Linked DNA regions of Homo sapiens: region 1 is linked to region 2. Evidence: promoter capture Hi-C in 16 types of primary human blood cells and fetal thymus (Javierre and others, 2016). All regions are on one chromosome and are shown on one strand. The core of a region is centred on a gene start or on the middle of the fragment in contact, and the rest is flanking DNA. Distances in the headings are between cores, read along the strand shown.

Region 1 (4,912 bases), core at 42-2,541, 470 kb after region 2:
CTGTTTTTTCTTTGAATTGATTTTTCATTATTTACTTCCTAAAAGTGTTGGAATTTGGTCCTCCACTGTGAAATCCCAGTGTTTGGGCACATTATTTCTTTGGGGCTTATGAGGTGCTCCTAATCCACTCCCTTATTGATGGATTGATGTTTGACTCCATAAGCCTGCTTTATTTAGGACCTTCCATCATAATTTTTTGTACATTTAGGCTTGACTCTTTTATTTCCTTCTAACAGATGAGCTGACATTGGGCTATCAAACGGGTGGGAAAACAATTGCCATGAGGTTAATTTCATGGTCGGCTCCGTGCGTTCTGAGCAGACGGGTGTTTCCTGGCTGCAGGCCGGGCCTTGGATGCAGCCTTGACGCGTGTCGATCTGTTTACACACAGGGCTGAGTCCGCCGGCCCCCCGGGGGTGCTCATGGGTGCCCGGGTGTCTGCAAGCTGCCCGCAGCTGGGTGGTCTCTGGGCACGGATGCTCTAGGCCCTCTGGGCTCCAAGGAGGCTGGGTTGTATGTCTCTTGAGAAGCTTTCCTTTCGAAAGGCCACCAAGACCACCGAGACTGCTGAGACCGCCAAAGCCACCAAGACCGCCGAGACTGCCAAGACCACCAAGGCCGCCGGCTGCTCCCGGTGGCTCCATGCACCCGGCAGGAGAGTGGAAGGCGTCGGGCCTGGGGCAGTTTGAAAAGATAGGTGCCGCCAGCATCTGCGCTTCCTCGTGGGTGCTCAACAGGCTGCCTGGGAAGCTCCTTCTGCCATCACCTGGAGTCAGCTGCCGTCCACAGTGGAAGCTGCCAGCCACCAAGGCTACCGACCTGGGCCCTGGGGATGAGCAGCCCAGGAGGCGAAGATGCCTAGGTGGGTCCCCAGCTCTGCAGGTGCCACTCCCCACGCCAGTGTTCTCCAAACTTCCGGGGAGACCTGTCTGTGCTCCTGTAGGTGTCAGGCAGACTCAGAGGCACAGGGGTTCAGATTGAGGCCTGGGGCTGAGGAAGCAGGAAGTCCTGTCAGGAGCTGGAGCACTGAGAAAGGCACCTTGCTGAGAGCAGCCTTGGAAGGGTCCAGAACTGGAAAGATGGAGAGCTGCCATTGGCCCGTAGCTCTGGGGCTGGTCCTGGCCATCTAGCCATGGGACCATGGGCAGAGGGTTCCCTAGCTCTGGGTGAGGCGGGAGTGGTGGGCAGTGCTGGCCATGAGGTCCCTGTGGGGTGCATCCACGGACGCGGGTCTGGAGGCGCTGCTGTCTAAGCTGAGGCTTTTGAAGGATGACCGTGCCCAGGTTATCCAGTGTTCCTTCTCAGCGAGCAGCTCCCATGGCAGTCCATTCATTCAACATGCCCTGGTCCAGCTGCTGCACAGCCATGGGTATTCTGTGCTGAGCGCCGTGGCTGATGCACACCCACCGTCCCCTGCAGAGGAGACCTCTGCACGCAGGCCCACAGCAAGGGCCGGATCAGGAGAACAACCCACTTGGCAGGCGGCAACCTTGCCTGGCACTCACCAGGGCCTCCTCCCCAGCACTGTCCCGAGTCAGGTCTGCACGGCTTCATGGCTGCCTGCCCTGGGAGGTGGAGCATGGAGAAGGCCAGTGCCTCATCACAGAGCCAGATGCCCACAACAGGATCCAGTGCTGTCAGCTGGGCTCCAGAAACCTGAGGACATGCAGCCTGCAGCTCCTGACACATGACATGTGACATACAACACATGACACGCGGCATACTCCCTGTGACATGGCACATGACACGTGACACAACACATTCTCATGCTCCGCCGACGCGTGACCCACGGCACGTTCCCGCGCTCCGCCGACGCGTGGCCCACGGCACGTTCTGACGTCTGCCAATGCGTGACACACGGCACATTATAATGATGTAAATATTGATTATTGATTTAAGTGAAAATATTGAGAGGGTGGGGGTGAGAGATGGAGTGTGTGTGTGATATTGAGTGACGGGGAAAGATAGTAGAAAGTAGTTAAATCCTCTTCTTCCAGCATGGAAAAATTGAAAAATCAATGTTGAAAACTGGAAAATCAAGAAGTGGCAATATAAGCTTTAGAGGTATGGAGATAAATACCAAAAGAAAACAATCAAAAGAAAATAATTGCCTCTGGGAACTAGAAGACTGAAGTGGACAGGAGCTACTGTTTTCATAGTGTGCCTTGCAGAACTCGTGTGTGTGTGTGTTACTAGCTTTTAAAAAACAAAATTCCAGGAAACTTCTTAGGAGGAAGAGACTCCTTCTGTTGATGGTGACATCAAACAAGACCTGCAGGAGGAGGTAGCACTGACAAGAAGGTGGTGTGCCAGTTTGTGATCTGGTGCGGTGAGGCACCTGTGTCAGCAACAGGTGGGAGTGGCTCTGGTGTCTGAGCAGAGGCTCTGGTGTCTGAGCAGAGGCTGTCTGGATGCCATTCACGGTGAGAGAAGAGCCTAGAATCTTGACTGTCCTTTGAGTATCAGGTAAAGAAATTTGAATGTGATTAGGTAGTCAGTGGGGACCATTACAGAGTTCAGGGAGAGAGGTGAGGCAGTCAGAACTGGGGGAAGATGGAGAAGGGACAAGTGTGTTGTTTCAAACGTAGAGTCCTCTGATATCTACCTTTTAAATTCTTATTGAAGTAAATGCACAGAGAGGACCAGAAGTGGTGATCCATATTGGTGCACATTTATTTTTTTGACTCTGATTCCTTTAAGCCTAAAACTAGGGCAGTGTCCCATACTGAGCACTAAAGAGAAGTAGGGTCAAACCCAGGAGGGAGGAAAACCAGATCCCTGCACCTTGGCCAAGATGAGGATGCCGGATGGAGCATAGCCAGTCCTGGAATGAGGCCTGCATCTCTCCCTTGCACAATGCCCCCACCCACAATCCAGCCAGGTCTCTCTGTGTCCCCAGCTGCATGCTCCCACCTCTTCGTGATATGGTTTCAAAAACACAATCCAGCACCATGTGTAAATTGTTTGATGCTTGAGATCAACTTTACTGAATTGCCTACATTGAAAGTGATGAGGACAATACCTCCTTCAGGAAGAAAAAGGCAAAATGAAGTGCTTTCATGAATAGTCAGAAGGGTCTTACTAACATAAAAATATTTTGATTATGTCTTCAGAATCTCTTTATGTAGTTAGTGGCTTGTAAGCTGTCAACTTGTAAATGATGCCGTTGGAAATTGAAATGTAAATAACATTACCATTTATAATAGCATCAAAAATATGAAATATTTAGGAATAAATTAGGTCAAGATGTGTAAGACCTGTATACTGAGAACTATGATATATTGCTCAGAGAAATTAAATAAGATCTAAATAAATGGAGAGATATACTATGTTCATGGATCAGAAGACTCAATCTTGTTAAGATGTCATTTCTCCCCAAATTGATGTAAAGATTCAGTGCATTACTAATCAAAATCTGAGCAGACTTTTTTTTTTGGTAGAAATTAAGCTGGTTCTAAAATGTATATGTAAATGTAAAGGAATTAGAATGGGCCAAAACAACTTTGAACATGAATAAAGATGGAGTCCTTATACTACCTGATTAAGACTTCTTTGAATCTCAATAATTAAATCAGTATAGTATTGGCATAAAACCAGATAAACAGATCACAGAACATTATGGAGAGTCTAGAAAGTGGCCCACTATTGATCTTTGTCAGAGGTATCAGTGGACTTCAGCAGTGAGTGAATGATCTTTTCCACAAAGGGTGCTGTAGCAATTAGAGGGCCGTTTGCAAAAAACTCACTTCAATTGTTACTTGAAACCACATGAAAATTTAGCTTGAACTGGATCATAGACCTAGCGTAAGAGCTAGAACCATGCAGCTTCCACAAGATCACACAGGACTTCTTTCTTTAAATATGACACCAAAAGCAGAAACCACTATAAGAGGAAACCAGTCAGTTGGACCTATGAAGACGACCGTGGCAAGCGCTGGGGAGGCGGTGGTAGCACTGCAGCCGTCGTGTTAGTGCTGGAAATGTAAAACATGCGAAAACATGGAGGTCTTAAAAAAAACGTTGAAAATACACACACCGTATCACCCAGCCGTTTCCCTCTTCAGTATTTACTTAAGAGAAATGAAAGCACATTCCACACTAAGACTGAATGTTCATAGCAGCTTTATTCAGAATAGCCAAAACCTGTCAACAGCCCAGATAGCCACAGCAGGTGAGTGGGAACAGGAGGGGACAGTCTGTGTACACCGTGGTGTGTCAGCTGTCGCAGTAATTATGGTGGGCAAAAGAATCCAGACCAAACCAAAAATGCATTCTGTATGATTTCATGTATATCATATTCTTAAAAATGCAAACAAGTCTGTAATGACAGAACACAGATAGTGGTTTCCCGGGGAAGGGGTTGTGGTGGGGGCTGGAGGGATTCCAGTGAGCACTAAGGAGAAGCCAGGTCAAGCCCAGGAGGGGAGCACGGTAGATCCCCGCACCTTGGCCGAGGTGAGGATGCTGGACGGAAGGCAGCTGTCCCTTCCACACTGCCCACCCCACCCGCACTCCAGCCTGGCCGCTCTCTGCTCCCACCCTTTCATGCTGTAGTTTAGCAAACACAATCCAGAGCCAAGTGTAAATTGTGTCAAGGGGCGAAGGGACCCAGGGAACCTTCTGGAGCGACGGGCATGTTAGTCTCCTAATTGTGGTGATGGTTTCACGTGTGGATGTGTCAGGACTCATCCAGTTACACGTCACATGGGTGCAATTCTGTCAGTGCCACTTACACGTACCTTAGCACTCTAGAAGGAAAATCTAGTCTTGTGGTGGATGGCTTGTGAGGGGTCAAACTGCAGATTTAATGGAAAAGGGAAGTACTTCCATCAGCAGCTGGCCCCTCGAACGGACTGTGCACACCACTGTGTGTCTCACAACTCAGGCAACTCGGCACGCCGCAGGACATAAC
Region 2 (4,433 bases), core at 82-2,581:
CCCCGCCCGGCCTTCCCAGCGCCCAGTGTGTCCCGAGGGCGAGCAGCCACGCGTGGCCGGGACTAAGCGAGCACCCAGGGGCCAGAATGGGGCGTTCAGCACCCGCTACGTGGACAGAGCCAGCTCCGCGCAGCGCTGCCGGGCGGCAGGAGGCGGGGGGGGAGGGCGCGGCCTCCAGGTCCGCCCAGTGCACCTGCCGCGCAGACCTCGCTACAGGAGGCTCCGAGACCGGATTCTGTCGCCCGCTCCTGCCGTGACCGCGCGGCAGCCTCAGGAGCCCGCGAGGCCTCTGGCCCGGCCCAAGCTTGGCTGCGTGTTCCGCTGCGTGGAGGACGCCTTCGAGAGCAAGACGCTGCCGCTGGACGCTCTGGGCGGCGGCCGCCCGGGCCCTCGGGTTGGGAGGCGAGTCTGCGCGGCGCGCGGAGACCCCTCAACGGCCGCAGCAAGTCCCCGAGGGCAGCCCGGCGTGGCCCAGGCCCGGGACCCCCAGCAGGTAGTGGCCGCGGGACAGAGGCCGTGGGCCCGGGCTCGGACTCCCCGAGACCCTCGCACCCGGAGGACGCCGGGCGTGGGGCTCCCCCGCTCCCCCCTGCGGGGTCCTCCCTATCCGTAAAGGTCCTGAGCCTTCTGGGTCCTGCGACCACCCCCCACCCCCGCGAGGTCCCGCCCACCACCGCGTCCCGGTCCCTGGGGAGCGCGTGCGCCTCCTTCTGTCTCTCTCTCTCTCTCTCTCTGTCCTATTCGGGCCCCTCCTGCCCTCCGTCTCTCGCGGCCAGCGTGGAACAGCCTCGCGGGGTCACAGCCTGGCGCTCGGACCCTGGCCCGGGTCATCTGCGAAGGAGCCGGCTTTGGCCAAGGTGCCTTCCTGGACGGGTGTGGTTCCCAGAGCGTCGCGGCCCGGGGTTGACTGGCTCGGAATCCCGGGGCCTTGGGCGCCTCGCGTCTCCTGGGACCTGGGTTCCGCGCTGGAGGGCAGCGGGGGCGCGGGCGGGGCCTGGCAGGACGTGGCCGGACTCTCTCCCTCGCCTCCCCGGGGTGCAAACCCCGCGCACATCAGCTGGAGCAGGTTGAAATCCCCACCCAGCGCTCGTCCGCGGGTCTGCGCGGGGGCCCGGGGTGCAGAGATCAGACCCTGCAGCGGTTCCAGCGCTGGGGGGGCTTTAAAGCGAAGGAGTGGCTGAGGGCGGGGGCGGGGCTGATGGGCGGGGTGAGGCGGGGCTCGGGCTGGGGCGGGCCCTATCGGGGGCGGGGCCTGCCGGGGGCGGAGCCGGGGTGGGGGCGGGGCCCAGCGGGGGCGGGACCGGAACGGAGCCGTGCGGCCCCGCGCGCTCGCAGTCTGTCTCCCGCCGTCCCCACGCACGCGTCCCGGCTCACGCGTCCCCCCGCCCGCCCGCCCGCCCGCCCGCCCCCGCTTGTGCCGCCCCTACCAGAGACCCCCAGGAGCAGGATGTCCTTCCAGGGCAAGAAAAGCATCCCCCGGATCACGGTGAGCCCGGTCCCGCTTCGCCCGGCGCCCCCTGCCCGCCGCCCGGAGTGGGGCCTGGACGCCGGGCGGACCCTCCTGGTCTTGTGCGTGGGTGGGGGGTCCCTGCCTTTGCGTCTGGTCCCTGTCCTGGCGCCCGCCCTTCCCTGCTCGGCTCCTTCGCGCCCCAGGGTCCGAGAGTCCCCGCTAGCGCCGCGCAGACCCCCTTAAGGAGCGGGGCGCCCAGGCCCGGCCCGGCCCGGCCCTGCCCGGCCCTGCCGGGCCCTGCCGGGCCCTGCCCGGCCTTGCCCGGCCTTGCCGGCTTCCGGGAGCCTCGGCTGCGCCCGGGGAGAACCCGGGGCCGGGCGGCCTGTCCCTCGGAGCGCTAGCGGCTCCTTTCTCCCACGGCGGTCGGGTGGCGAGGCGGGCGGACGCGGCCCTTTGTTGGCCCGGGCTGGTCCGGGGCGCGGGGAGATGCCGTTCCCGGCGCAGCCCGTGGGTCGCCCGCCCCTTGGACGCACTGGCGCTGCGTCGGGAGCTCTTTGTCCGAGACAAAGCGATTTAGCCCCGGCCGCTCTGGCCGGAGTCCCTGGTGGCCCCGAACCCTTCCAGTAACCTGGGTTCAGCGACTCCAAGGAAAGCGAGCGGTCAAGGGCCACTGGCCGGGAACCCTGGCAGCCCCTGAACCTTCGAGAGCAGAGACCCCTCCCCAACACCCACACGCACCGGCGCGGGAGGTCCCGCTCTGCCAGAAACAAAGCCTCCCCGCTCGGGCGGGGGGAGATGGGGGTGGGAGGAAGGAGGCTTCGGGACCCGGCAGGACCTGGGCGGGGGAGTCCATGGGGTCCCAGACCCGACTCTGGACTTGGCCTCGGCGGGAGGGCCGTGGGGTCTGACCTCTGGCATTAGCTCGAGCCGTGGGCTGTGGGCTCCACTCCCCCAGACTCTGAGCGAGGAAGGAGCCCTCCCCTCTCCAGATGGGAGGGGCTGCTGCCTCCAGAGGGTTCTGCCCGGCTGGGTCTGGTCTTGATGCAGGAGGTCTTGCCAGTCAGCTGGCATGTGGGGGTCGAGTTTGGGGGTGGCAGGAGGACCCCTTCCCAGGGGAGGTCAGGCAACCATGTCAGTGCGGAGGGGCAGCTGCTTCCCGGGAACTTTCACCTCCATCCGGATGAGTGCAGTAAGAAGAGCACAGCCCCACACCCCAGCTGCGTCTCCTCTGGGTTCCAAACCCAGTCTCAGTGCGGGTGCCTGAACACTTGGGCGCCTATGAGCAGAGAGCCCAGACCACACGTCTCCTCAAGCCTCCTTCTGCCCGGTTGCGTTTTCTAGGGCTTCCTTGAAAATGCGTGGGTCCCCTGGGAGGGGTGGAAAGTGAAGAAGAGGGACAGCACCGGGAAGGCAGCCAGGGCCTGATGCGGCCACAGAGGCTCTGCAAATGCATGGTGGTGCCGGGTCAGGGCTGAGCCTGGCGCTCAGCTGGGACTGGGCAGGAGGAGGAGAGGTGCAGCGGCTGGGAACAGACAGCTCTGTAGACCAAGGGTCTAAAACTTCTTCCACAACCAGCCCGAGAGTAAATGTTGTCAGCTTTGCGGACCACGCTGTTCCTGTCTCAGCTGCTTGGCCCTGCCAGGAAAGCAGTCCTGGACATTTAGGAAGTCGATGGGCACCACTGTGTTCCAACAAAACTTCATCTGTGGATGCTGCAGTGTGAACTTCATAGAATTTTTGAGTCATGACATACTCTTGTTATTGTTTTCAGTGAATATACAAGAACGATTCTTAGCCTAGGGCTGTATGAAGAGAGGTAGAGGGTTGGGTCTGGCCTGTGGCATAGTCTGCCAACCGTTTGTAGACTATGGGGTAGAGGTTGACAAGTCACTGGGATCCTGAAAATACAGCCCCACAGTTAGATGTCAGCAGTGAATCCTGTAATGGAGTTCCTAGATAATGAACTCCTTCTCATTCTGAGAGTTTTACCAATTGTGCACTTCAGTTTAATGCTCTTGGCTTCAGACTGACGGTGCGTGAAGGCTCTAGCCCCAGGCTAGGGCCCTGGCCACCTATGGGTGGGCCCTGGAAACCCAGAGCAGGCGGCCGGACCTCCCTGTTAAATGCAGACGGTCAGTCCTGCCGGGTCAGTTGCAGGGCGTGCTGAGGCGCACGCCAGACGGTGGAGGGAAAAGCGTTGCCGAGTCCAGCCCGTGGGCGCGTCCTTCTCCACCTCCTTTCACTCCTTTTTTGTGTTTCTCTCCCCCATTCTCCAATGAGGTCAGATCTTCACCTCTGACGGTCATGCAGAGTCCCATCAGTGACACCCTACTTTCTGCCTAATCTTCTGCTTCCCGGCCATCTGGTAGGATTCTTAGAAGTGGATTTATGACTGCCAAGCACTGGAGTCAATCCCTGTCTAACGCCACAGCTCTGTGCTGCCAGGGCTGACCTACAAAGAGCGGGCCTCACCAGCCTGACGCTCTGTGTCCCACTGGGAGTGCGTCCGAGCTGCACTGGAACCGAGGTCACCCCATCTCTTCCCCATCACCCCCATGGCCTCTTGGTCAGCAAGTCCTGCCCTCCTGACTCCCAGCCTCTCTGGAATCCACTCTCCTCCCGTCCCTTCCCATAGTCCTGTCCCAGAGCCCCTCATCTCACTCAGAAATCACCCCAGCAATGATCCGGCTCCCACTGTTACCTGTCACAAGCTACTTTCTAACACAGCAGCCAAAGGTGATCTCTTTAAAACATCAAACCAGGATTGAAACCTGCTTAAGGCCCCCAGTCAGGGGGCAGCCATGGAGTCCCCAGGCCTACATATCCTGCCCCTGCCAAGCTCTGGGCACCGACTTGCCTCTGGCACCACCACCCCACCAGAAGGTTCCATCCCTCGGCCTCCTCCCAGGTCTGCTGATGGCAGCTCAAGCCCTTTCCTGCCCCAAGGCCAGGCTGCTTCCTGGCTGGAACGCTCGCCATGTCT

What was found. Contacts are between HindIII fragments. The CHiCAGO score rates a contact against its expected background, and 5 or more counts as called.
Region 1: a contact is called between a fragment that was not itself captured here and the fragment with the promoter of DPYSL4 in region 2, in 5 of 17 cell types (monocytes, naive B cells, non-activated CD4 T cells and 2 more). The highest score is 7.5, in monocytes.

Annotation. Positions count from the first base shown.
Region 1 is chr10:132,658,233-132,663,144 of GRCh38, forward strand. The region is part of intron 4 of INPP5A (inositol polyphosphate-5-phosphatase A); the gene reads left to right. Among named protein-coding and RNA genes, the nearest start is that of INPP5A, 120 kb to the left of the region's middle. The HindIII fragment of the contact is 1,526 bases long and covers 529-2,054 here.
Region 2 is chr10:132,185,617-132,190,049 of GRCh38, forward strand. DPYSL4 (dihydropyrimidinase like 4) reads left to right here and starts at 1,332. Exons shown (of 14, transcript NM_006426.3): 1 at 1,332-1,486. The coding sequence starts at 1,448. It overlaps JAKMIP3-AS1 (JAKMIP3 antisense RNA 1), which reads right to left and starts at 1,136. Exons shown (of 4, transcript NR_184044.1): 1 at 1-1,136. RefSeq lists an enhancer at 2,051-2,552. The HindIII fragment of the contact is 7,306 bases long and covers 303-4,433 here.